Linked DNA regions of Homo sapiens: all the other regions are linked to region 1. Evidence: promoter capture Hi-C in 16 types of primary human blood cells and fetal thymus (Javierre and others, 2016). All regions are on one chromosome and are shown on one strand. The core of a region is centred on a gene start or on the middle of the fragment in contact, and the rest is flanking DNA. Distances in the headings are between cores, read along the strand shown.

Region 1 (3,893 bases), core at 625-3,124:
TTAAATCAAGCACTTTCTTTGGGAGGCAGCCAGTTAGTTAGGTTTGAGTTCATGTCTCCATACTCTTTAGAGGAGCAAAAGGGAAGGGAAGAGGGATCCAGAAGCACTTGTCTCCAGAACTCCAGAATCTGCAGAAATATATTTAAAACTGCAAAATACCCAAAAGAAAAATATCCATGCAGGAATAAATATAATACATGTTCCTGGACGTGGCTCTATCTCCAGTTCTATACATACATACACAAACATGCAAAGATGTACAAACATGCACAGACCATGCCTCATCTTCCCTCCTTGTAAGCTGCATGCATCTTCTGCCTGGACACAGACGGGGTTTAAGAGGGCAGGCTTTGAAATCAGACAGCCTGGCTTAGAAACCTGACACTTGCACTTAAAAGCTCTATGACACTTCAACTCTCAGCTTCAGTTTCTTAATCTATAAAATGGAGATAATAATTGTATTCTATAGAGTTGTAATGTTGGTTGAGACAATGCTAGGCATACAGTAAACCCTTAATGAACATTGTTATAAACCTGTTATCATATTGCTGAATCATAGTATTAATTTTTAAAGTTATTTTTAGAAACCATTAAATCTGAATTTAAAGTTCAAAATATCTCAACTGACAGAATAATGACATAGCTGCATTTTGGCATGAACAAGCAGTGACAGCCACGTCACCACCCACGCAGATGCCCAGCAGCTGGCAAGTTCCTTGGAACCACACTGGGAAGATGCATCTTGGTTTCAGAAATGTTAAAATTGGGGAAGAGGGTATGTCTTCAAATGGTGTAAATTTAGTATAATGAGGACTACTGCAGAATAGTAATAGGCAAATTTGGAAACAACTCAAATCCATCATCTCAACCAAACCCTAGAATCTGAGCAGGTGCTTTGACCGTGACCAGGTCCAAAGTATACGGCACTCCAAGAACAGTCGGAGCTACGTGGGAAGGGAGCTGGCCCAACTTTTTGAAGTTTGTTGGAGAAGGATGGGTATGTGACTTATAGGCGTGTGTGTGTGTGTGTGTGTGTGTGTGACTATATGCAGAGACAGGAGCTGCGTGTGTTCTAGGAATTGGAGCTTGTGAGAAATATCCCACCCCTGAATACATAAAAAGTCTTGTTACCAAAGTGCACGAATTTTCGAATCTTACTCGGGAAACAGTTAATGGCTGAGAAGCTTCATATCGAAGATGCCCCACCCTCACAGTGCTCCCAGACATGCCACCCTCGGACTCAAAGACTGCACACAGACTCCTACTCACCACATCGGCCTTGGACCCAGGTAGGACCAGAGACGGGGGCGTGGGAGTGCTCACTCTTGAGGTTTTCAGCGGTAAAGAGTGTCTCTTTAGAGACGGACTGAGTGGTAACAGATATTGTTCCCTCCCGGCCTTTTATAGACAGACCACATCTCCACTCAACGCAATCATTCTCCAAGAAGCGTCCAGCGTTGAGGTCGGCTTCCTTCGGAAGCCCGGAGGACCCTCGGCCTCCGGAGTGGACGAGGGTCTGCTCCACATTCCCATCAAGGGCCCGCCCAGGCGGGTGGGCTTTCCCAGCAGCGCCCCCAGGAGCGAGGCTTTGAGGGCCGGAATGGGAGGGATGCCCTGAGCCGGCGTCTTGCAGACCCCGGGGAGGATACACCTCCCTGGCTGCCGCTTTAACACGGGGCTGGCGGCTGCAGCCAAGCCCACCCAGCCTGGCCTCTTAGGCCGCAGCCGGGTGTCTCGCCTGGCCTCTGCCTCCGGCCGCGCCCTCCCGGCCGCTTGCACCGCCGGCCGCTCTCGCTGCAGCCCTGGCGGTCCCGGGGCCCACCCCACGCGGTCCCGCTGCAGCTGCCACAACCCGCGCGTCTTCCGGCGGGTTGTGAGCCCCGGCCGCCGGCTCCGCCCACAGGGGGCTGCCACGGAGCCCGCCCTCTCCCGGGAAGCAGCGCGCGCCCTCGAACCCGGAAGCTGGAAGCCGCCCGAGCGCGCCCCCGAGGGCCGTCCGGAACCGTGGGTAGCGGCCACCCACCCACGCCGCCCCCCGTTTCCTCACAGCGGTCCTTGGGAGACCTCCTTCAGCCTTTCCGGTGAAGCGCCTTCCCTGTCATTCATTCATTCACTCATTCATTCATTCATTCATTCAGTTATCTATTCTGAGTGTGTAAGATCTACCCCCACATTCTTATTGGCCCTGCGTATACAGCAGTTAACAAAACGCAGTTCCTGCTTTCTTGGAACTTAATTACATTGAAATTAATTGACAATAACAAATAGAAAAATAAATAGATAATACCCCAGGCGATTGTGAGGACCATGAAGAAAAGGAAAGCAGGGTGGGGAGATGATGGGCTAGGATATTTGTATCAACCCACTGTAGAAAACAACAATAAAATTTAAAAATAAAATTCTGGAATACGTGTGTGTGTGTGTGTGTGTGTATGTGTATATATATATACATATATATATAATATATAAATTTGTTTTTGAGACGGAGTTTCGCTCTTGTTGCCCAAGCTGGAGTGCAGTGGCGCGATGTTGGCTCACCGCAACCTCTGCCTCCCGGGTTCAAGTGATTCTCCTGCCTCAGCCTCCAGAGTAGCTGGGATTACAGGCACGCATCACCATGCCTGTAATTTTGTATTTTTAGTAGAGATGGGGTTTCTCCATGCCTGAGCGACAAGAGCAAAACTCCATCTCAAAAAAAAAAAAAAAAGAAGAAGAAGAAGAAGACCCTCCTTACAATAACTGGGACCCCAAAGGGCAACAGCCTCAGGGTGAGGATGAATTGAAAATGGAACAGCTTAAAAGGAATTTACAGACTGCATCAAATTGCCTGTCTCAGACATTATCTTGGTTTAAGACTGTCTCTGACTATGGTGTCACCAGATGCTTGGCAAAAGCAAATAGGTGGAGGAAAGCCTTATAATTGTAGGGCCGACATTTTTCCTACACATAAGTTTTCATAGACAATGTCAAATACAGAATTAAAGATAACCAGGTACACAAAGAAACTAGATTCTTAGTGAGAACCAGCAGAAACACAAACATTGGAAATAGACCTGCAGAAACAACTGCTTTTAGAATTATTTGATGCAAACCGCAAAATAATATTTTCTTGGGCTGGACACAGTGGTTTATGTCTATAATCCCAGCACTTTGGGAGGCCAAGGCAGGTGGATTGCTTGAGCTCGGGAGTTCAAGACCAGCCTGGGCAACATGGCAAAACCCTGTCTCTACAAAATATCAAAAATTAGCCAGGTATGGTGGCACAGCCCTGAAGTCCCAGCTCTTCAAGAGGCTGAGATGGGAGGATCGCTTGAGCCCAGCAGGTTGATGCTGCAGTAAGTCACGATCATACCACTGCCCTTCAGCCTGGGTGACAGAGCAAGACCCTGGCTTAAAACATATGTATATTTTCTTGCTTACCTATTAGAGTTTTTAGGAAAAAAAGTAAAATAAAATCATATTTTCTTTGCCTGAAGAAATAAAAAAGATAACTTGGACAATTTTGGCAGGTACCTAAAAACTATACAAAGTGATAGAGCAGATTTAAAAAAAGAAGTAAATAGACTTCTCTTCTATGATTGAGAAATACAGTAACTAAATTAAGAACTCAGTTAATGGCAGATTAGACACTGCTGAATGTAGAATAAATTGAAAGGAAGGTAGGTCACAAGAAATTATCTAGAATAAAGCATTGAGAAACAAAAAATGTACCCTACAGAAGACAGAGTAAGAGAGATAGAGAATACAGTAAGAGGATCGAACTAAGTTTAACGAGAGATAAAGCTAGGGCAGAGACAGTATTTGAAGAAATAAGGGCTGAATATTTTTAGTACCTATGAAAGGAACCAGGTCACAGATATAAGATGCCATATAACTCTCTAGTGGGATAAATA
Region 2 (3,893 bases), core at 599-3,098, 480 kb after region 1:
TCTACACAAAGACATAAAGGCACTGCCAAAGCTTTGAAACTAAACCTAGACTCCTGCAGTCTGTGCTTGTGTGTATTACATAAAAAGGAGCCTAGAGAAAGGGAGAAAGAAGGGGACACAGAGTGAGGTTTTCTTTTTATTGTATTTATTTATTTATTTAATTTTTGAGACAGAGTCTCACTCTGTTGCCCAGGCTGGGGTGCAGTGGCACGATCTCGGCTCACCACAGCCTCTGCCTCCCGGGTTCAAGTGATTCTCCTGACTCAGCCTCCTGAGTAGCTGGGAATATAGGCTCACACCACCATGCCCGGCTAATTTTTGTATTTTTAGTAGAGACGGGGGTTTCACTATGTTGGCCAGGCTGGTCTCGAACTCCTGACCTCATGATCCACCCACCTCGGCCTCCCAAAGTGCTGGGATTACAGTCATGAGCCACTGTGCCCAGCCAAGAGTGTGGTTTTCTTTTTCTAGTTGCAATTGTTTGCATTTTCTGATTCTTCCGAAATCAGTACACAGAGACTCAGGGAGGTTATATAAATTGCCTGAAGTCACACAGCCGGTACCTTGTGAACTGTAAGTTAATCCCAGGACTTCAGGCTGCTAGTATGGTAGAGCATTTCTGCTATAGCTGAGCTAGCCACCGAGCCTGGAGTAGAAAGATGTTTTCCCTTCAGGAGAGACATATTACTGTCCCTCAGCGGGTGAAAACAATGGTATAGGACCTAAATACTTCTACGATCAAACAGAGTTAAAATACCCAAAACACCCACCTCCTGAGGTGTCTGCCCGCTTCACTCCCAGGTGGGCAGTCCTACATACCAAGTGTGTGTTTGATGACTCTGCCACAGGGATTGGACCAGCAATATCACTCTCACTCTTGTGATGTCTCTCTCTCTCTCTCTCTCTCACACACACACACACACACACACACACACACACACAAATCTGTAATTAGAATCAGGAGTATCCAATTCAATCTGGGAAGGTTGAACGGAGGAGATACATACTTGGGAGCTGTGGGCTGGCCTCTTCTACCTGCCATGTGGAACGAGCAGCTGAGCGGTGGTGTGCAGACAGAGGAAGAGCCACTTATGAGAGGAGGAAATACAACGGGATTCCTGATATCTTTAGTTCCCGGTCCCACTGGGTTTCTACTTCATTTGGGGAGTCACAGAACTTGGAATAGAGAGCAATACATCCCAAATCAGTCATTTCCAAACTATAAGTCAATACCAATTTATCACATGTTTTCATGTAACAAGAGGCCATATAGATTAATGATTTTTTTTTTTTGAGACGGAGTCTCACTTTGTCACCCAGGCTGGAGTGCAGTGCCATGATCTCGGTTCACTGAAACCTCCTTCCCACGGGTTCAAGCTATTCTCCTATCTCAGCCTCCGAGTAGCTGGGATTACAGGTGCGTGCCACCACGCCCAGCTAAGTTTTTGTATTTTTAGTAGAGATGGGGTTTCACCATGTTGGCTAGGCTAGTCTCGAACTCCTGACCTCAAATGACCCACCTGCCTTGGCCTCCCAAAGTGCTGAGATTACAGGCGTGAGCCACCATGCCTGGCTAGATTAACAATTAAAAGCCCCAATGAGGACATAGACTGCTTGGGTGAGCAGGGTAAGTTTATCAGTATCTGTTTCCCCAACTATAAAACAGGAATATAGGCCGGATGCAGTGGCTCATGCCTGTAATCCCAGCACTTTGGAGGGGGCTGAGGCAGGCGGATCATGAGGTCAGGAGTTCGAGACCAGCCTGACTAACATGGTGAAACCCCGTCTCTACTAAAAATACAAAAATTAGCCAGGTGTGGTGGCGCGTGCCTGTAATCCCAGCTACTCAGGAGGCTGAGACAGGAGAATTGCTTGAACTGAGAGGCGGAGGTTGCAGTGAGCCAAGATCGCACCATTGCACTCGAGCCTGGGTGACAGAGCAAGACTCCATCTCAGAAAAAAAAAAAAAAGACAGGAATATAATACTGAATAGTAGCTTTCTCATACAGTTTTTATGATGGTTAAATGAGTGGATCTGTCTCAGAATAATGACTCAAACATAGAAGGCAGTATGTAAATGTTATCTATTATCCACATTTGTTTTCTCCTCCTTGCTATTTCATATGTCACAAAGTTAACCACTACCAATAATTCCTGTATAAGGTAGTGAAGAAAAGGAGAGGCAAAATTTTGGTTAATATATGCAAACATATACATAACAAAGAAAAGAGGAAAATAGGCCGGGCACAGTGGCTCACACCTGTAATCCCAACACTTTAGGAGGCCAAGGCAGGCAGATCACCTGAGGTCAGGAGTTCAAGACCAGCCTGGCCAACATGGAGAGAAACCCTATCTCTACTAAAAATAAAAAATTAGCTGGGTGTTGTGGTGCATGCCTGTAATCCCAGCTACTTGGGAGGCTGAGGCAGGAGAATCACTTGAACCCGGGAGGCGGAGGTTGCAGAGAGCCGAGATTGTGCCACGGCACTCCAGCCTGGGCAACAAAAGCAAAACTCCATCTCGGAAAAAAAAAAAAAAAGAAAGAAAGAAAAGAAAAGAGGAAAATATACATAGTTGTAAAAGTCTGTATTTCTGTATCAGGTCACATGGCCAAGACCCAACAAGTCAAAGGTGTTGCTCTTGATGTAGCAATTACATAGTAGGTCCTGGAACTAAGGTCTCCTGATCCTAAGTTCAATGCTTGTTCCGTCACCCTGTATGTCCTGCAACCAACCACCTGTTGCAGTTTCCTTGGGAAGAGTGTGAAAACCTAAGCCCAGAGGGTGTTATGAAAACTGCTCCGGGCCAGGTGCGGTGGCTCACACCTATAATACCAGCACTTTGGGAGGCCAAGGCGGGCAGATCACCTGAGGTCGGGAGTTCAAGACCAGCCTGACCAACATGGAGAAACCCTGTCTCTACTAAAAATACAAAATTAGCTGGGCGTGGTGTCACATGCCTGTAATCCCAGCTACTCAGGAGGCTGAGGAAGGAGAATCGCTTGAACCCGGGAGGCAGAGGTTGTGGTGAGCCAAGATCGCGCCATTGCACTCCAGCCTGGGCAATATGAGCAAATACTCTGTCTAAAAAAAAAAAAAAAAGAAAAGAAAGAAAAGAAAACTGCTCCATGCCTCTACTTCTGGTTGGGGAACCAGGCTATTCCAACTTGGCCTGTCCAGTGGGGCTTCCACACCTATGTAATTGATGAAGAGGAAGAAGGCTTAGTAGTGATAATATTCGATTTTGAGAAGTATTTTGCAAAGAATCCTGTAGCAAAAAAATATATATCTGCTAATATTTAGGAAATGAGGAAATACAGAAATCACAAGAAACCACCACAAAGTGATCTCATCTGCCAAAGGCATCAAAGTGGGTGATTCACAGGAGGATGTCTGGAAGCTGCACCCCAATCTCTCATCCTCTATCTGCTGAAGCCCTAGGCCTACTCACCACCAATAGAATTATAATGGCCTCTCCTGTCCTTCTGCCATCCAAATTTCACATAAGCACCTCTCATTTGCAGCATACAGGCTAGAATCCTGTCTAGGGAGGCTAAGAAATATAGTTCCGAGGCTTCTAGCTCCCAAAACATAGGAGAAAGCACAGGAGGAAGTGAGAATGAGGCAGAGATGCCAACAATCTGGTATGGTATACACCAAGCTTGTCCATCCCGTGGCCCACGGGCCACATGCAGCCCAGGATGGCTTTGAATGTGCCCCAACACAAATTTGTAAACTTTCTTAAAACATTATGAGTTTGTTTTTTTTTAGCTCATCAGCTATCATTAGTGTTAGTATATTTTACATGTGGTCCAAGATAATTCTTCTTCTGCCAGTATGGCCCAGGGAAGGCAAAAGATAGGACATCCCTGGTCTATACCTTTGGCTAGTCGG
Region 3 (3,893 bases), core at 730-3,229, 410 kb after region 1:
TCCCGAAAGGTTATCACTTCTTTGATCTGCTCTGAGATGGGTGCCAACAAATCGGAAAGCTTATTCTAGGAAAAGATACAAGAAAAGATTCAGGTTAACATCTTTCCACAAAGGTGTCTATGCCTTCTGATCCTGAAGGCAAGAATTCTCTATGGACTCTAGTGAGCACCCAAATAAACTGCATGAGTCCTGTCCTGATTCCTAAGGCTAAAATACTGCTCATCATCTCACTCTCCTCGTAGAGTTCCAACTCCTCAGGCTGCACCTGATGGTTCTTCATGATCAGGACCCATACTTCAGCTATACCACAGAACCTCCATTTCAGCCACCTGTCTCTTTTTTGTTCCACTCAGAGGACATACACTCAGGACATCATTCCTGTGCCTTACTCATGATGTTCTCTTTTTTTCCCATGAATCCAAATTTTCCTCATGCTTCATGAGGGCCCTCCAACCCAGCCACACCAGCCTCCTACAGCATTTGTTGTCAGCATAACCAATCTTGGCATTTTATCACTCACCAATACAAACTATTAATGGACCCATGTGAATATGTTTTACTTTCTCATTAATTCTTCAAAGACGAGCTCTTTTATCATCATGAAAGCCCCCAATGCATTGCCAGCCATATAGTAGCTGCTGTAAAGAACTGATGAATCAAATGCAATTAGGGGGCTTAGTCTGGGCATGGTGACCCACGCCTGTAATCCCAGCACTTTGGGAGGCCAAGGCAGGAGAACTGCTTGAGACCAGGAGTTCAAGACAGACTGAACAACACAGCACAACTTTGTCTCTACAAATAATAAAAAGAATTAGGGCCAGGCATGGTGGCTCACGCCTGTAATCCCAGCACTTTGGGAGGCCAAGGTGGGCAGATCGCTTGAGTCCAGGAGTTTAAGATCAGCCTGGGCAACATGGGGAAACCCCATCTCTATAAAAATACAAAAATCAGCTGGGCATGGTGGCGCATGCCTGTAGTCCCAGCTATTCAGGAGGCTGAGGTGGGAGAATCACTTGAGCCTGGGAGGTGGAGGTTTCAGTGAGCCGAGATCCTGCCACTGCACTCCAGCCTGGGCGACAGAGAGAAACTCCATCTCAGAAATAAATAAATAAATAAGTAAGTAAATAAGCAAGCCAGGCATGGTGGTGCACACTGTAGTCAAGGCTACTCAGGAGGCTGAGGTGGGAGGATCATTACACCTGGGAGGTCAAGGCTTCAGTGAGCTGTGATTGCACCACTACCCTCCAGTCTGGGTGACAAAACAACACCCTGTCTCAAAAAAAAAATTTTTTTTTAAACATAAATAAAATAAAAAACAATTAGGGGCTTAGCATTCAAGTAGGCACCTTGGCAAAATGGATGAATTTTGTTTGTGTTTGCACCCTTCCTCCAAAGCTCCATTTCCTGAACATCTCAATTCTCAGATCTTAACCATTCAGGACAGATTAAGAATTAAAATCTAATTCTACATATTAGAATTAGATGGCATCTATACACACACACACACACACACACACAATGTTTTTTGAGAGAAGGTCTTGCTCTGTCGCCCAGGCTGGAGTGCAGTGGTGTGTTCATGGCTCACTGCATCCTCAAACTTTCAGGCCCAAATCTTCCTCCCATTTCAGCCTCTCAAGTAGCTGGGACTATACGCATGCACCACCTTGCCTGGCTATTTTTATTTATTTTATTTTTTTAATTTTTAATAGAGACGAGGTCTTGCTATGTTGCCCAGGCTGGTCTCAAACTCCTGGCCTCAAGTGATCCTCCTGCCTCAGCCTCCCAAAGTGCTGGGATTACAGGAATGAGCCAGCACACTTAACCAGAATCTAATATATTTGACATTATCTTGCACTATTTTTATATTATCTAGGCATGCTGAGGGTCAAGGGTTTTAATACAGCATTTAGGACAACTTGCTTTATTATTCCTCTGTAACTAGGAAAACCAAATGCAAAAGAAGGAAACCTATATTCTTTGACTCCAAGAGAAATCTAAATTTTCTCTAATTCAACTTTTCACATCTTGCACCATAAAATTTTGAGGTGGGAGTAAAATTAAAGAGAGAGTCTCCCAACCAGTGAAGGATGAGGAGAGAAGCAATACTGTAGGAGTTTTAAGATCTCCACAGGAGCACTACTAAAGCCCATCCACAGTGAAGCAAGAGAATCATCTTTAAAGGGCTTTGGAGACACTATGATGAATGTGGACTCAGCAAAGAGGCAGGCAAGCAAAGTCCCAGGGATAACCACAGTCCTATGCAAAATGACAGAGAAAAAGCCAGTAGAGACCATTAAGTACCCAATAGTACCTTCCCATTAAGGCACTTGAAGTATGGCTCTACCTCTGGGACTTGGTATGAACATATATTATCAAAAGCCTAGTAGGTCTATTTTAAAATGTTATAATAGCTTGACATAAATCTCTCAACTCGTCCTGAGCATCAAACCAAAATGAAACCAGCTAGTAGTGAACTTACTTCTGCTGGCTGTTGACACTGAGAAGCTGTAACCAACAGAGCTCGCTCCAACTTCAAACCTGTGTGGACCATCTCCGCCTGCCAGAAAGAAGAATCAGCTATTGATGACACATTATAACTAGAGAAGTCTTGATAAGAATAACCTGAAACCTCTACTTCCATGTACTCTGATAGCAACCCAGGCACTTCATGTTATCCTCCTCATGTATTCCAGATTCCAGGGACTGAGAGCAGAATTACATACACTACTGTTCCTATTGGAACTCATCAGGGATATATATCCAGAGTTGGAAGTGAAGTTAATTGGATAATCACCTAGCTTACATGAAGTCATGTTAGCATCTTACACATGCATTGTGATACCGTGCACTGAAAAATCCTTCCTATTTCACATCAGCAAAATAAAACAAACAGCAACCAAAAAAACACCTTTCTTTTCTCAAAAATTGGAGACAGGAGTAAAGGCAAAGGCCTAAATTTCTGCTGAAAATTCTCAAGGTATTTACTCCTTTAGATTAAAGCTATCTCTCAAATGCCAGATACCATGACCCATTAATAAATAATTAAATCAATTTAGTGAGCTTAATGGAACAAAAGTATGAGTGCAGTGCACCAACTTCAAGTTATTTCCAAATAAAAAGTTAAAAAAAAAAAAAGTACAGCAGAAGTAGTATAAATATCATCTTGTGAAACTTTTATCTCAGTTACGAATATGTTCTTTCTTTCTAAGGGTCATTCGCAGTCAAAAGAATTTAAGAAACATGAGACTGTAAGCACTATTAAAATACAAAAATTCAAAGAAAGCAATCTATTTTTTCTGGATTTGCATTTTTAAAATACAAATGATAAATGTTTTAAAGTTTTTTCAAATGTTACAGAACTGTATTAAGTAAAAATGCAAGCCTCCACACCCTTATTAAAGTCCCAGTCCCACTCTCTAGAGCTAAAACCATTGGCAACAGATGGTATTTGAGAGGCTCAAAATAGATTTTCCAAAAGCCAAGCAACCAGTCTTCGAGAAAGGTTTAGGTGAAGAAGTTCCCAAGCATGGTTACTGTTTATAATTCGGTGAGCTAGCAGGAAGGTTTTTGGGTCCCAAAAATAGAGGTAGAATGTATATGTGAGTGTGGGGTGGGGGTGGGGGGTGGTGGTGATGACGTAGGAGGCATAAAGGAAGGTGGGAGGAAAGGCACCTGTCATTGCCTACTTCATATTCTTGCTGTGGGTTAAGTGTGAAAATAACCCACATTAGCATAACTAATAACTATCAAGCATAGTTTTATAAATGCTAAGTCATGATAATGACTCCTTTAAATAAGCCACTGTAGGTTTGATTATGTAATATGTTGGGATCAAACTGGTGCATATTCTTCACTACAAAGATGAACAGAACCATATTTTATGTACCAAGCAA
Region 4 (3,893 bases), core at 668-3,167, 390 kb after region 1:
AGCCATTTTCCAAGATACAGCCTTGTGACTGACTCATGTTGTAACCACCTACAGCTAATAGCTGTCTTTTCTTTTCCCACTCGTTGGCTACACAAATAGCCACAAAGCTGTTTTGGGTCAGCAGTACCACCTGATGGTTATTATAGAAAACTAAGATACTCTGTACCTCTAGCTCCTTTTTTTTACCCTCAGGCTACACCAAGCTTTCCCCTTTGCCTGGTTTGATTGGCTGTGGCTAATTACAACTTAATTATTTATATTCTACATATTCTCTGTTCTCATGGATTTGCATGGTATTTAAACTTCATTCTTCTTCCTTTACTCTTTATTCTCACTCTTGCCCAGTTGCCTCCAAAACGCCTATACTTTTCTTTCTTTGTGTGAACCAAAACAACCCTTGGCGATCAGAATTCTGTTAGTGATGCTAAGTGAGCAGTCCGTCGGGGGGTGACAAGTGACACCTAAATACTGATTAAGGCGGGGCGCAGTGGCTCATGCCTGTTATCCCAGCACTTTGGGAGGCCTTGGTAGGCAGATCACTTGAGGCCTGGAGTTCAAGACCAGCCTGGCCAACATGGCAAAACCCCATCTCTACTAAAAATACAAAAATTAGGCAGGCGTGGTGGTGCACACCTGTAGTCTCAGCCACTCCGGAGGCTGAGGCTAGAGAATTGCTTGCACCCAGAAGGCGGAGGTTGCAGTGAGCTGAGATCGCACCACTGCACCCCAACCTAGATGACAGAGTGAGACTCTGTCTCAAAAAATAAAAATAAAAAATACTGATTAAAAGCTATAGATTGATGTGTTTATCTTCACTTCCTCCTTAAACTTTAATTAAGTGGTAGCAGAAGAATAAAAAGTGATAAACCCACAAGGGCAGAGAGAACAGGGAGAGAGGAGGTAAGAGATCATAAAAAATGGCAACATGTTTTTGAAAGCAAGCAAGCAGATGAATGAGTGTGAGAACTGTTTTAGCAGAGCAGATGGTGAAGGCTTAAAGTAATAAAGAGAAATCATTTTGTCTTTGTGATACTGTCCCAGGTTGCCCCTGGTATTAGGGAGGATTAATTCTGGTTGCAAGAAGAAACCCATATCAAGCCAAAGTAAATTTTAAAAGAAAGTAATACTCTGTTGGTGCCTAAAGCCTCATAGGGCCTAGAATCAAGAATTGGGAGCCATGAGGAGCCAGGGTATTCTCTCTCCAGTGCCATTGTTGCTTCTCTCTCTGTGTCGCTGCTTCTTTCTCTCCATGCAGACCAGCTTCCCCTGCCACCCACATGATGGAAGGTGGCCTCGCACGGCTTCCAAATGTTTAATTTTCTGTTAGGAGATTGTCTCAGTCTGAGGCTAGACTCTCTTTGTCCCGATTCAGATTCTTCAGGAAGGGACCATGCCCCAGCTCAGGTCAGGTCTCCCCCTCTGCTCTCATTAGCTGTGGCCAGAGAAGTGGGACCGTGCTTACTAACCATACCCCACCTCCCTGTAAACCAGTAGGCCGGGCAGGAAGAGTGCAAGAGAGGCAGAGACCCCAAAAGATGTCTTCCACATTCTTCAGATAACTTAACCTTAGCAAAGCAAACGTGATATCCTAATACGCACAGTAACTGGTGGGGAAGCCCCCGGCTTGGCATGGTGAGGGCAACGAGGAATGGTATAATAGTTCTCTCTCTCCTTCCTGGATGTAAAACTACCCTCTAGTTCCCTTTTGCCTTTGCAGATGCTGTCAGCCCTTCCTAGCCTTCTCCTTCCTCCGGTTTGCTCCCTGCCATCCCCTGCCCCACGCTCTACCCTCCTACCTCTACACTCCCTGCCACAATGAATGCTTCAGTGTTGCCCTGGCCTTGGCCTCCGTCTTCCCCCGTACCAGCTCAGAGGAAGCTAGAGCTTTACATATCCTGTTTAATTTTCATAGCAACTTGCCTTCCCCAGGTCTGCTCTGGGCCCCGCTCCCAGTTTGCACCCCACCCTCAGTGGATCTCAGAGTGCTTTTCCTCAATTGTCCAGTTTTCCCATGTCTTTGCCCTCAGCCGATGAACTTGCAACTTGGTTTTCTGGAAATATTAAGGCATCTACTCAGGCTCTCTCAGAGACTTTCAGCCATTCAAAAAAGTTAGAGAGTAATGTAACGAACTACAGGCATACCTCAGAGAAACTGAGGATTTGGTTCTAGACCACCACAATAAAGCAAATATTGTTAATACAGCAAGTCACACAAAGTTGTTGGTTTCCCAGCGCATATAAAAGCTATGTTTACACTATACTGAAGTCTATTAAGTGTGCAGTAGCATCATGCCTAAAAAAAGTACATGCCTTAATTAGAAAATACTTTATTGCTAAAAAATGCTAATCATTTGAGTCTTCAGCAAGTCATCTTTTTGCTGGTGGAGGGTCTTGCCTCGGTGTTGATGGCTGCTGACTGATCAGGGTGGTGGTTGCTGAAGGTTGGGATGTAGGGTCCAGCCCCACAGGGTCGGTGGGTTTTTCTCCCTGTGTGCGGAGATGAGAGATTGTAGAAATAAAGACACAAGACAAAGAGATAAAAGACAGCTGGGCCCGGGGGACCACTACCACCAAGACGTGGAGACTGGTAGCGGCCCCGAATGCCAGGCTGCGCTGATATTTATTGGATACAAGACAAGGGGGGCAGGGTAAGGAGTGTGAGCCATCTCCCATGATAGGTAAAGTCACATGGGTCACGTGTCCACTGGACAGGGGGCCCTTCCCTGTTTGGCAGCCGAGGTGGGGAGAGAGAGAGAGAAAGACAGCTTAGGCCATTATTTCTGCATATCAGAGACTTTTAGTACTTTCACTAATTTTGCTACTGCTATCTAAAAGGCAGAGCCAGGTGTACAGGATGGAACATGAAAGCAGGCTAGGAACATGACCACTGAAGCACAGCATCACAGGGAGATGGTTGGGCCTCCGGATAACTGCAGGCGGGCCTGACTGATGTCACGCCCTCCACAAGAGGTGGAGGAGTAGAGGCTTCTCTAAACTCCCCCGGGGAAAGGGAGACTCCCTTTCCCAGTCTGCTAAGTAGTGGGTGTTTTTCCTTGGCACTGACGCTACCACTAGACCACGGTCCGCTTGGCAACGGACATCTTCCCAGACGCTGGCATTACCGCTAGACCAAGGAGCCCTCTAGTGGCCCTGTCCGGGCATGACAGAGGGCTCACACTATTGTCTTCTGGTCACTTCTGAGCATGTCCCTTCAGCTCCTATCTCTGTATGGCCTGGCTTTTCCTAGGTTATGATTGTAGGGCAAGGATTATTATAATATTGGAATAAAGAATAATTGCTACAAACTAATGATGAATGGTATTCATATATAATCATGTTTATGATCTAGGTCTAGGATAACTCTTGTTGTTTTATATATTTTATTATACCGGAACAGCTCATGCCCTCGGTCTCTTGCCTCGGCACCTGGGTGGCCTGCTGCCCACATTGGGGTGGCTGTGCTAATTTCTTAAAGTGAGACAATGATGAACTTTGTATCAGTTGACTCTTCCTTTCATGAAAGATTTCTTTGTAGCATGCGATGCTATTTGGTAGCATTTTGGCCACAATAGAACATCTTTCAGAACTGGAGTCAATCCTCAAACCCTGCCGCTGCTTTTATGTAAGCTTATGTAATATTTATTCTAAATCCTTTGTTGTCGTTTCATCAGTGTTCACAGCATCTTCACCAGGAGTAGATTCCATCTCAAGAAGCCACTGTTTTGCTCATCCGTAAGAAGCAATTCCTTATCTGTTTTTTGAGATTGCAACAATTCAGTCACATCGTCAGGTTCCACTTCTAATTCTAGTTCTCCTGCTATTTCCACATCTGCAGTTACTTCCTTCATTGAAGTCTTGAATCCCTCAGCCATTCATGAGGGTTGGAATCAACT
Region 5 (3,893 bases), core at 1,017-3,516, 370 kb after region 1:
GCAGCAGGAATTTTCAGGGAATACTGTTTATATTAATATATTAATTGTGTTATTATTAAATGTGGGAAGTAGGTTTGGGAAGATAGTTTGGATTCTCATTTTGAATACAAAAGCTTGAACTACATCCTGAAGACTAGGGAGAAGTGTTGAAGGTTTGCTCTACGCTTTATTTTAAGAAAAATCAACTTATTGTTCTTGTGAAAATAATATGTTTTCACTGCAAATCATCTAAGCAATGCAAAAGAAAAAGAAAAAACCCCCTGAAATCTCATTATTTGACAATTATACCTCAATAAAGCTGGGGGGAAATATTTTTTTAAAAAAACAACTCCTAAGTCCAACCATCTAAAAATAGTCACTATTAACATTTGATTAACATCATTCTAAATATCTTTTTATGCTTTTATATGGATAGAATGATAGATAAATAGGTATATAGACATAGGTACTTTAAAAAATTGTATCATAAGGTGTGTTATTAAAAAATAAAAAGTATTAAATTCAAGTTTACTTGAATTTAACAGAATTGAGTTAAAGTTAATTGAATTCTGTTAATCCTGAATTCTAATTTAAGTTAATTGAGTTAAAGATTCAAAAATTCAAGTTTACTTGAATTAAATAAACTTAAAGGAATAAAAAGGAAAAAAGGAACAAGTATAAAAAGAAATTTTAAAATCTGGACTTCAAATAAGGGTTAGGAAAAGTGACTTTGACATTATGTTGTTTTGTTTATTTGAAGTTTATTTAATTTTATTTAATTTAAATTTAATTTTATGAGACAGGGTCGTGCTCTGTCATCCAGACAGCAATGCAGTGGCATTGCAGCCTTGAACTCCTCCCACCTCAGCCTCCCAAGTAGCTGGGACCACAGGTATGCGCCACTACACCCAGCTAATTTTTTAGGAATGGGGTCTTGCAATATTGCCCATGCTGGTCTTGAACTCCTGAGCTCAAGCAAATCCTCCTGCTACAGCTTCCCTAGTTGCTGGGATTACAGGCATGGGCAACTGCCCAGGTCTGGTTTTTTAAGAATACGTTTTAAATTAGAATCTATTGTAAGCCCAAGGAGAGTGCACTCGTACTATACTATCTTCCATTACCTCCCTCCACAGGGCCCAATATTTCTTAGTCATACTATTTTACATTGTTAATTCATATAATATGTACATGGTATAAAGCAATGATTCACACAGGTATTCAGTATTAATTCTGTATTTAAACAGATTCAATGATCATCACAAATCCTTTTCCCAAGACTTCTTAATTATTGAAGTCTTAATTTTGCCCTATTTCTTAATTGGCTGAATTTCACTTTCAAGCATTTTCTCAAGAAGAATTTGAAAGAGCTTTTTTTTTTTTTTTGAGATGGAATTTCACTCTCGTTGCCCAGGCTGGAGTGCAATGGTGTGATCTTGGCTCACCACAACCTCCGCCTCCCGGGTTCAAGCGATTATCCTGCTCAGCCTCCTGAGTATCTGGGATCACAGGCATGTGTCACCATGCCCGGTTAATTTTGTATTTTTAGTAGAGATGGGGTTTCTCCATGTTGGTCAGGCTGGTCTCAAACTCCCAACCTCAGGCAATCTGCCTGCCTCGTCCTCCCAAAGTCCTGGGATTACAGGCGTGAGCCACCATGCCTGGCCAGAGAGAGCTCTTTCCTATGCATTCTTTTGTATTTGTGGGAATCTGCCTAGTATCTTTATTTCCAAATGACATCTTGGCTGGGTATAATATTCTTGGATCATACTTTTGTTCTTTCAGAATTCCGTAGCCAGTGCTCCATTGGCTTCTGTCTCTGGAATGTTGCTGTTGAGAAATGTAAGGATAGCCTGAGTTTTTTTCCTTGTAGGCATTCTACTTTTTCTGCCTGGTTATCTGAAGTTCAATAAGTTAATTACAATATTTTTCAGGACAGAATATTCTGTATCAAAGTGCTTTCTGTCTTGACCTTTCAAGCTGTAGATTAGTACTTCATTTTGGGGCAAACTTTTGTTTTTATATTTTTGAATACTTCTGTTCCATTTAATGAGTTCTCAATTTCAGGGACACCAATAACTTCTGTCTTCCATATCTATAGATTTCTATCTGATTGTTTTAATATCTTTGTGTTTTCATCTACCATTATTTTGATTATTTAAAACCATTTTCCATATCAATAGTTCCATTTCTAGGAGTGTAAAAGTCTTTAAAAAAGAAAAGAAAAAACTAATTCCACTCCTAGCCATGTCTATTTGGTTCCTTGTTTTCAGGTATTTATTAGTCTTTGGATTCTCAAATGTGCAACTTCCCTATTCATCTCCTTCCGTTGTTTTATTATCTTGGTTTTGAGTTCTTATTCTATTGAGCTCATTTTCTTGTCTTTTTTTTAGAGACAAGGTCTTGCTCTGTTGCCCAGGCTGGAGTACAGTGGCACAATCATAGCTCACTGTAACCTTGAACTCCTGGGCTCAAGAAATTCTCCTGCCTCAGGGTCCCAAGTAGCTAGGATTACAGGTGCCCAGCACCATGCCTGGTTAAATTTTTTTATTCTTGTAGAGACAAGGTGTTGCTATGTTGCCCAGACTGGTCTTAAACTCCTGGCCTCAAGCAATCCATTCACCTTGACCTCACAAAGCACTAGGATTACGTAAGTGTTAGCCACCACACCTGACCTGAGGTCATTTTCTTAATAAATTGTTCTACAGCTCAAAGCACTTGGGGTGAAGTTTTTTGTTTTTCTATTTGTCTCCAGAATTGCTTTCCACTTTATTTGAAACTTATTTGTTTTTCCTACTGAACTGCAGTTAGAAGAGTGTTATTTTATGCAGTATGCAGTTTTTCTATGATTTTTATGCTTGTCTGAAGAGGGGAGAGGGCTGCTCATGTGCAGCCTTTGTTAGAATACCTAAGTTCTGCAATCACTTCTGAGGTTTTGTTAAGTGTCTATTCCAAAGTTCACCCCACTAATGGCTGGTGTAGTCCATTTCCATGGAAAAGATAGCTTCACTTTTTGGAACTTCTCTCAGTTCAGCATGTTTTCCTGAGTCTTCACTGCCATCTTAAAGATTTGGTCTATTCCATACTTCCCATTTCAAGTTTTTCTCCCCAGTAGCCATTTTCAATTTTCCAGAGATGGGAGGGGAAAGAGAAGGAAAGCGTTTACTTTTCTTCTCTCTTGTAATGTATGTGGATATGTTTGTGTTAATTGTCAGGATTTTGTGGATCTAATTGTATGAGTTTTGATGGAATGAAGGCAGAACTGGAAGCCTTGACATGCTCCAGCCCAGAATCTTCTATTTATTTCCTTGACCACCACTTACTGACATTTAAGATACTGACGTTTTTTTGCCGTGGATACAATTTTAACTTTTTAAACTTTCCTAGATATTGGTTGAAACAGAGTCTGTGAGATAGCTTTACTCCATTTTCTTAATCTAGAAGTCTAATAATTTTTAATGTGTGTATATTTTCCATTTTTATTATAAAAATTGTATATCCTTGCTGTAAAATTTCAAACCAAACACAAGTATATAAAGTAAAAAGTGAAAGTTCCTTGTAATACTGCCCTCAAGAATATTACTTTTAACGGTCTCCAGATCTTTTTAAATATTTATTTTCTTTCTTTTTTCTTTCTTTCTTTTTTTTTTTTTTAAGATGGGGTCTCGCTCTGTCGCCCAGGCTGGAGTGCAGTGGCTCGATCTTGGCTCACTGCAAGCTCCGCCTCCCGGGCTCACACCATTCTCCTGCCTCAGCCTCCCGAGTAGCTGGGACTACAGGTGCCTGCCACCACGCCCGGCTAATTTTTTGTATTTTTTAGTAGAGACGGGGTTTCACCGTGTTAGCCAGGATGGTCTCGATCTCCTGACCTCGTGATCCACCCGCCTCAGCCTCCCAAAGTGCTGGGATTACAGGCG
Region 6 (3,893 bases), core at 746-3,245, 360 kb after region 1:
CTAGGTTCTGGAGATATGGCAAAGCATAAGATTGAATCCCTGCTCTCTCAAAGCTTACATACTAGAACTGTGTTGTCCAGTACAGTAGCCACTGGCCACATGTGGCTATCTAAATTTAAATCAGTTAAAATTAAATTAAATTAAATTAAAAATTCTTTTACTCATTCACACTAGCCACATGTCAAGTGCATAGGAGTCATATGGTAACTAGTGGCTACTATATTGGACAGCTCAAATATAACAATACTTCCATCATTGCAGAAAATTCTACTGGTTAGTCCTCCTTTAGACAGAAGAGTTTGATAATAATCAAGTAAACAAAAATGGACAAGAGTAAACATTGCTCTGAAGAAAATAAAAAACAGTGCTGCCTTGTATTGTAGACTGATGGTCTTGGGAAGGCATCTCCGAGGGACTCCCATTTGAGCTGAAAAACTAATGACAAGAATGAGCCAGTCATGCAAAGATTTGGGTACAGAATGTCTCAGGAAGAAGGTGAGGCAACTGTAAATGCCATTGAGGTAGGATGTGAAACTCATCTCCAGAGGCAGGGCTTGAACCTCGGACCAGATAGAGAAATAGCTAAAACAGGGAAAAGTCCAAAGCACCTCTCTGTAAGACACTCCCACTAGTGTGCCATGTCAGTTTACCATTTCCATGGCAACGCCCGAAGTTACTGCTCTTTCTTTTCTTTCTTTTTTCTTTCCTTTTTTTTTTTTGAGATGGAGTCTCGCTCTGTCACCCCGGCTGGAGTGCAGTGGCACAATCTTGGCTCACTGTAACCTCCTCTTCCCGGGTTCAAATGATTCTCCTGCCTCACCGTCCTGAGTAGCTGAGACTACAGGCATGTGCCACCATGCCTGGCTAATTTTTGTATTTTTAGTAGAGACGGGGTTTCACCATATTGGGCAGGCTGGTCTTGAACTCCTGACCTTGTGATCTGCCTGCCTCAGCCTCCCAAAGTGCTGGGATTACAGGTGTGAGCCACCATGCCTGGCCAGTTACCACCCTTTCCATGGCAATGACCTGACGACATTTTTTCTAGAAAATTCTGCATAATATTCCCCTTAATTTACATATAATTAAAAGTCAGTATAACGACTACTCCAGAACTGCCACTGAGCTGCTACTGTGGGCACACTGCCTATGGCGTAGCCCTGCTCCTCAAGGAGCAATACTACTGCTGCTGCTGCAGCTGTACACGGCCACTTCAATAAAAGTTGCTAACACCACTAGCTCGCCCTTGAATTATTTCCTGGCAAAGACAAAACCCTCCTGGGCTAAGCCCCAATTTTGGGGCTTGTCTGCCTTGCATCACCATGAAATGGGAATAAGCCTGGGGTATTTCAGAAACAGAAAGAAGATCATTTTGGCTAGAATTTTGTAAGCAAAGAGGAGAGGGGCCTGAGATGAGTTTGGAGAGATAGGTAGGAACAGACTCTGTAGGGCTTCCAAGGCCACAGTGTGGGGTTTGGAATCATCCTCTTTCTGTTTTCAGAGGGTGGTTAACCAGATGCTGCCTTGAGGTCTGCAGATAAGTTTATACTTTTCGTTAGGTTTTTTGAGGCCATGAATTAGATATTCAGGCACCTGAGACCCTGGGGCACAGCAGAGTTGAAGAGCCTGACAATGGTTTTGGAATTGAGCAGAAGATGGTGTCAGAAAAGTTGGGCTTGCCAAAGACAAATAGGAAGAATTGGGGTATCAGCCAGCAGCACCCACAATCCCACTATCAGATGAGGCAATAGACTCACTCAGGCAAGTCAGTGCTTTCACAGGGCGACAGAGAGCTCCTCTGTGCTAGCTCCTAAAGGAGTAGTCAATACATGGTTATACCCATTTTGTTGGTCCCACCCTAAGCACGAACCTTTTGAATATTAAAGGGACACAGCATGGTTTAGGCCAGCACTAAGCGTAGGAGAAACTATAGGTGGGCAATGAGAGAGTAACATCCCCTCATCCTGGAGTGTTCAAAAGCAGAGCCATCTTCTACCTTTATCTAAGACCCATCCATTCGATCATTTATTCTCTCAACAACTCTTGGTTGTGTGCTTCTGCTCTGAATTGTTTTAGTTGTCAGGAATATAGTATTAAATAAGACAAGTTCTTTATGTCACTTACAAAGCAGGTCATAAACAAATGGATATATAATATAATGTTAGGTGGAAAACGAAATGGTAAAGAGGATCAAGAGTGATAGGAGCATATACAACTGGCCCTCCATATCTGCAGGTTCTCTATCAGCAGATTCAACCAACCGGGTATGGAAAATATTTGGGGAAAAAAAGAGCGTGGTTTTGTCTGTACTGAATATGTATGGACTTTTTTTTCTTGTCATTACTCCCCAAGCAATATAGTATAACAACTATTTACACAGCATTTCCATTATATTAGGTATTATAAGAAATCTAGAAATGATTTAAAGCATATGGGAGGATGTGTATAGGTTACATGCAAATACTATGCCATTTTATGTGAGTGACTTCAGCTCCTTGGACTTTGGTATCAGAGGAGATCCTAGAACCAATTCCCCACGGATACTGAGGGATGACTATATATTGCTTGGGGAAAGCTCTAAGGAGGTGACCTTCGAACAGATATCAGAATGAAGTGAGGGTGAAAAACACGCAAATACTTGGAGGAAGAGCAGTTCAGGCAGAAGGAACAGCAGATGTCTTGAGGTGGGAGTCGACCTGGTGGCCTCATAGAAGCAGGAGGCCAGTGTGCTAGAGCTCAGTGAATGAGGGGTGGCCAGGTGAGGGATGCAACCAGAGACATAAGGCTGGGGGTGTGGATGTAGTTAAGGACTTAAGGGCCTTGGAGATCATCATAAAGATATTTGGTTTTCTTCTTCTTTTTTTTTAGAAGGAGTCTCACTCTGTCACCCAGGCTGGAGTGCAGTGGCATGATCTTGGCTCACTGCAACCTCCACCTCCTGGGTTCATGCGATTCTCCTGCCTCAGCCTCTCGAGTAGCTGGGATTACAGGCGCCTGCCTCCACGCCTGGCTAATTTTTGTATTTTTAGTATAGATGGAGTTTCACCATGTTGGCCAGGCTGGTCTCGAACTCCTGACCTCAGGTGATCTGCCTGCCTCAGCCTCCCAAAGTGCTGAAATTACAGGTGTGAGCCACCGCTATTGTTTTTAAAGTCATGGCGCCAGAGGACATTATCTAGGGAGTAAGTATAAACAGAGAAGAGACCGCAGGACTAAGGGGTGACACTCTACCTTTAGAGGTTAGGAACAGGAGAAACAAGTAGAGCAAGAAGACAGAATAATATTTCATTGTATGCATAGACCACATTTGTTAACCTATTCATTCTTCGATGAACACTTAGGTTGTTTCCACATTTTGGCTATTGTGAATAATACTGCTGTGAACATGGGTGTTCAAACATTTCTTCAAGACCCTGCTTTCAATTGTTTGAGTATATATCCAGAAATGGAAATGCGGATCATATAGTAATTCTATTTTTAATTTTCTGAGGAACCACCATACTGTTTTATCCAGCAGCTATACCATTTTACATCCTCACCAACAATGTACGAGGGTTACCGTTTATCCACATCCTCACCAACACTTATTTTCTGTGTTGTTTTAATAGTAGCCATCTGTGAAATAATAATAAATAAAAACCATTAAGAAATAAGAAATATGTCTCTGCCCCAGTTCATGAGACAGAGTTCCTAATACCCTTGCTGATAGGGGTGCTAGGAGAATCTTTTCTTCTAGTATTCGATCTTTGACCCAGTTCCTAACACAAATCTCCTTAGACTTTTGTAATTTTCAGAGTGATAGGAGTGTCTGACACAGAGTTCCTAAATTACTTGGAATTCCCTAGGGATAGGAGCATTTTTTGTTCTAATGAGGTGACTCTTGATAGACTTCTGGG
Region 7 (3,893 bases), core at 743-3,242, 340 kb after region 1:
CAAATAAGAAAATATATTGAGAATAGTGAGAGCCAGGTTTCTTACTCTTGGAGACAATAAGTATGAAAAGGGGAAAGACTAGAACAAACCCTGTAATTAGAGTCAGAGGTGTGAGCCTATAGGGTGTGTGTGTGTGTGAATATTATATATGATATACAAAGAGAGACAGAAGAGTAGATGTGTGTGTTTATGATATGTATAGTGGCTTTTTGGTTTTTCAAAACACACTAATTTGTAGCATTTGCTGATTTCCACGGTGTAAATACTCCCAGCATGAAATAATACTAGTTTCACAGCCACCCGCAAAGTTCCTGAATATTTAACAAGCAGCTTTTGCAAGTCCATATGAGCCAACTCCACTACAGTACTTCGGAATGTACATCATACGTATGATTGTGTGTGTGTGTGTCCAGACATATTTTTCCTAGTTGATATCTTGTTTCCTTGTCCTACTGAAAGGACTTGCAAGACCGACACACCCATAGCAATGAGTGCACCTAGCATCTACATCTTGACTTCCAAGTATCATTCTTCACTAAAAAGAAACCAAAAGTTCTTAGAGAAATGGCTGATTTCATGACTAGGGCAGTGAAAAATCTTACTGGTTCAGGAAGAAAGGAAGTATTCAAAGAATGAGGATGTAGTAAGCTAAGTAATGGCCCCTGAAGCTCTAATCTCTGGAATCTGTAAATATTATCATATACAGAAAAAGGATCTTTAGAGATATGATCAAGGAACTTGAGATGGGGAGATTGTCTTGGATTATTCAAGTGGACTTTAAATGCAAACACAAGTATCCTTGTAAGAGAGAGGCAGAGAGAGATTACGCAAAAGGAGAAGGCAGGAGGCAGAGACTGGAGTGGTGCAGCCACAAGCCAAGTGCCAGCTGGAAGCTGGGAGAGGCAAGGAACGAATTCTCCCCTAGAGCCCAGAGGAAGCATGGCCGTGTTAATATTCCTGATTTGGGCCCAGTGAAGTTGATTTTGAATGTCTGGACTTCAGAACCATGAGAACTGCAGCTGTTTTAAGCCACCGAGTTTGTGGTACACTGTTACAGCAGGCATAGCAAACTAATACAGATGAGAAATGTCAAAAGAACACAGGAGCCAGTGTAAAGAGGCTCCCACTGGCCAAATCAGGGACAATCTAGTCATCAAAGTAAATTATGATTGTAAGGAATTATAACTTATTGAATAAATTGGGAATCCTTAAGCCCACACTAATATAAATAAAAAATTAATTAAAAAGGATACAGGAGACCAGGTCCAGTGGCTCATGCCTGTAATCACAGCACTTTGGGAGGCTGAGGCAGGCAGATCACTTAAGGTCAGGAGTTTGAGACCAGCCTGGCCAGCATGGTGAAATCCCATTTCTACTAAAATTACAAAAATTAGCTGGGTGTGGCAGCGTGCACCTGTAGTCGCAGCTACTCAGGAGACTGAGGCATGAGAATCTTTTGAATCTGGATGGCGGAGGTTGTAGTGAGCCAAGATCTCGCCACTACACTGCAGCCTGGGCAACAGAGCAAGACTTGGTCTCAAAAAAAAAAAAAAAAAAAAAAGAGGATACGGGAAAGGAAATGATACTTTACTATAGAATTCAAGTAATAAATGTAGAAGAAACAATGGACATAGGAAAATCTCTATTTGGTGGCCATTATAGTAATAATCCAGGCAAGAATCATTAATGGATGCTAAAACTACTAGGTGTAAATTCGTGTATATTTATGTGTGTGTGTGTGTGTGTGTGTGTGTGTGTGTGTGTGTGTATATATATATGGAAAGAGAGAGAGAGAAATAAAGAGATAAGGAGGCAAATATGATAAAATGCCTCTGGTGGAGATTCTTCAGGATTCTCTGTACTAATCTTGCAAATCTTTTCTAAGTGTGAAATTATTCAAAACCATTTTTTAATTGTGGCAAAATATACATAAAATAAAATTTACCAACCTGTCCGTTTTTAAGCATATAGTTCAATAGTGTTAAGTACATCTGCATTGTTGTGCAACCAATCTCCAAAACTCTTATCTTGCAATCTAAAACTCTATACCCATTAAACAACTCCCCATTTCCCTTCTCCCCAGCCCCTAACAACCACTATTCAACTTTCTGTCTATAAATTTGACTACTAAGTACCTGATATAGGTGGAATCATACAGTATTTGTCTTTTTGTGACTGGCTTAGCGTAATGTTGTCAAGGTGCTACATCCATGGTATAGCATATGTCAGGATTTCCTTCCTTTTTAAGGTGGAATAATATTCCATTGTATGGATATATCCTATTTTGCTTATCCATTCATCTGTTGATGGACATTTGGGTTGCTTCCATGTTTCAGCTATTGTGAATAATGCTGCTCTGAACATGGGTGTACAAATAACTCTTCAAGACCTTGCCTTCAATTCTTTTGGATATATACCCAGAAGTATCAGTGCTGGATCATATGAAAATTTTATGTTTAATTTTTTGAGGAACTGCCATACTGTTTTCCATAGCAGCTGCACCATTTTTCTCTCTTTTCTTTTCTTTTCTTTCTTTTTTTTTTTTTTTTTTTTTGAGACAGAGTTTTGCTCTTGTTGCCCAGGCTGGAGTACAATGGCGTGATGCTGGCTCACTGCAACCTCCGCCTCCCGGGTTCAAGTGATTCTCCTGCCTCAGCCTCCCGAGTAGCTGGGATTACAGGCACCCGCCACCACGACCAGCTAATTTTTGTATTTTTAGTAGAGATGGGGTTTCACCATGTTGACCAGGCTGGTTTCAAACTCCTGACCTCAGGTGATCCACCCGCCTTGGCCTCCCAAAGTGCCGGAATTACAGGTGTGAGCCACCGCGCCCAGCCAACAGCTGCACCATTTTTCATTCCCATCAACAGTACACAAGGATTCTGATTTCTCCACATCCTCACCAAAACTTGTTATTTTCTTCATATTTTTGATAGTGGCCATCCTAATGCGTATGAGATTGTAGCTCGTTGTTTTGATTTGCGTTTCCCTAATGATTAGTGATGTCAAACATCTTTGCATGTGCTTTTTGGCCATGTGCATATCTTCTTTGGAGAAATAACTATTCAAGCTCTTTGCCCTTTTTGTTTTTTTTGTTTTTTTTTTTTGCGACGGAGTCTTGCTCTGTTGCCCAGGCTGGAGTGCAGTGGTGTGATCTCAGCTCACTGCAACCTCCACCTCCCAGTTCAAGCAATTCTCCTGCCTCAGCCTCCCATGTAGCTGGGATTACAGGTGCACGTCACCATGCCTGGTTAATTTTTTTGCATTTTTAGTAGAGACAAAGTTTCACTGTGCTAGCCAGGATGGTCTCGATCTCCTGACCTCATGATCCTCCTGCCTCAACCTCCCAAAGTGCTGGAATTACAGGCGTGAGCCACTGTGCCCAGCTTATTTGCCCAATTTTTAATTGGGTTGTTTGTTTTGCTGTGAGAACTCTCTGTATATTCTGGATATTAACCCCTTATCAGATATAGGAGTGCAATTATTTTCTCTCATTCTGTGGGTTGCCTTTTTACCCTGATTGTGTCCTTTAGAGCATTGTTTGTTTGTTTTTTGAGACAGTTTCACTCTTGTTGCCCGGGCTGGAGTGCAATGGCACGATCTCAGCTCACTGCAACCTCCGCCTCCCAGGCTCAAGCGATTCTCCCATCTCAGCCTCCTGAGTAACTGGGATTACAGGCGCCCACCACCACACCTGGCTAAATTTTGTATTTTTAGCAGAGACAGGGTTTCTCTATGTTGGTCAGGCTGGTCTTGAACTCCCAACCTCAGGTGATCCGCCCGCCTCGGCCTCCCAAATTGCTGGGATTACAGGCGTGAGCCACAGCGCCCAGCCTAGAGCATAGTTTTATCTATTTTCACTTTTGTTGCCTGTGCTTTTGGTGTCATATTCA

The links. Contacts are between HindIII fragments. The CHiCAGO score rates a contact against its expected background, and 5 or more counts as called.
Region 2: a fragment that was not itself captured here is called in contact with the fragment with the promoter of ZFP69 in region 1 in 1 of 17 cell types (neutrophils); the score reaches 5.3 in neutrophils.
Region 3: a contact is called between a fragment that was not itself captured here and the fragment with the promoter of ZFP69 in region 1, in 4 of 17 cell types (total B cells, naive B cells, naive CD8 T cells and 1 more). The highest score is 6.6, in total B cells.
Region 4: a contact is called between a fragment that was not itself captured here and the fragment with the promoter of ZFP69 in region 1, in 7 of 17 cell types (naive CD8 T cells, total B cells, total CD8 T cells and 4 more). The highest score is 7.8, in naive CD8 T cells.
Region 5: a fragment that was not itself captured here is called in contact with the fragment with the promoter of ZFP69 in region 1 in 4 of 17 cell types (total CD8 T cells, naive CD8 T cells, total CD4 T cells and 1 more); the score reaches 5.9 in total CD8 T cells.
Region 6: a contact is called between a fragment that was not itself captured here and the fragment with the promoter of ZFP69 in region 1, in 12 of 17 cell types (erythroblasts, naive B cells, total B cells and 9 more). The highest score is 8.3, in erythroblasts.
Region 7: a contact is called between a fragment that was not itself captured here and the fragment with the promoter of ZFP69 in region 1, in 9 of 17 cell types (naive CD8 T cells, total B cells, total CD4 T cells and 6 more). The highest score is 7.6, in naive CD8 T cells.

The regions. Positions count from the first base shown.
Region 1 is chr1:40,475,271-40,479,163 of GRCh38, reverse strand. ZFP69 (ZFP69 zinc finger protein) reads right to left here and starts at 1,874. Exons shown (of 6, transcript NM_001320179.2): 1 at 1,270-1,874; 2 at 1-128. RefSeq lists a silencer at 1,666-2,135. The HindIII fragment of the contact is 9,111 bases long and covers 1,187-3,893 here.
Region 2 is chr1:39,991,918-39,995,810 of GRCh38, reverse strand. No RefSeq gene overlaps it. Among named protein-coding and RNA genes, the nearest start is that of MFSD2A, 39 kb to the right of the region's middle. The HindIII fragment of the contact is 3,629 bases long and covers 34-3,662 here.
Region 3 is chr1:40,060,399-40,064,291 of GRCh38, reverse strand. It overlaps CAP1 (cyclase associated actin cytoskeleton regulatory protein 1), which reads right to left. Exons shown (of 13, transcript NM_006367.4): 4 at 2,480-2,557; 5 at 1-65. Among named protein-coding and RNA genes, the nearest start is that of CAP1, 22 kb to the right of the region's middle. The HindIII fragment of the contact is 3,835 bases long and covers 62-3,893 here.
Region 4 is chr1:40,084,126-40,088,018 of GRCh38, reverse strand. The region is part of intron 5 of PPT1 (palmitoyl-protein thioesterase 1); the gene reads left to right. Among named protein-coding and RNA genes, the nearest start is that of PPT1, 11 kb to the left of the region's middle. RefSeq lists an enhancer at 3,028-3,322. The HindIII fragment of the contact is 3,424 bases long and covers 206-3,629 here.
Region 5 is chr1:40,100,960-40,104,852 of GRCh38, reverse strand. No RefSeq gene overlaps it. Among named protein-coding and RNA genes, the nearest start is that of PPT1, 5.7 kb to the right of the region's middle. The HindIII fragment of the contact is 4,302 bases long and covers 116-3,893 here.
Region 6 is chr1:40,117,096-40,120,988 of GRCh38, reverse strand. No RefSeq gene overlaps it. Among named protein-coding and RNA genes, the nearest start is that of PPT1, 22 kb to the right of the region's middle. The HindIII fragment of the contact is 3,880 bases long and covers 56-3,893 here.
Region 7 is chr1:40,137,248-40,141,140 of GRCh38, reverse strand. No RefSeq gene overlaps it. Among named protein-coding and RNA genes, the nearest start is that of RLF, 22 kb to the left of the region's middle. The HindIII fragment of the contact is 6,332 bases long and covers 1-3,893 here.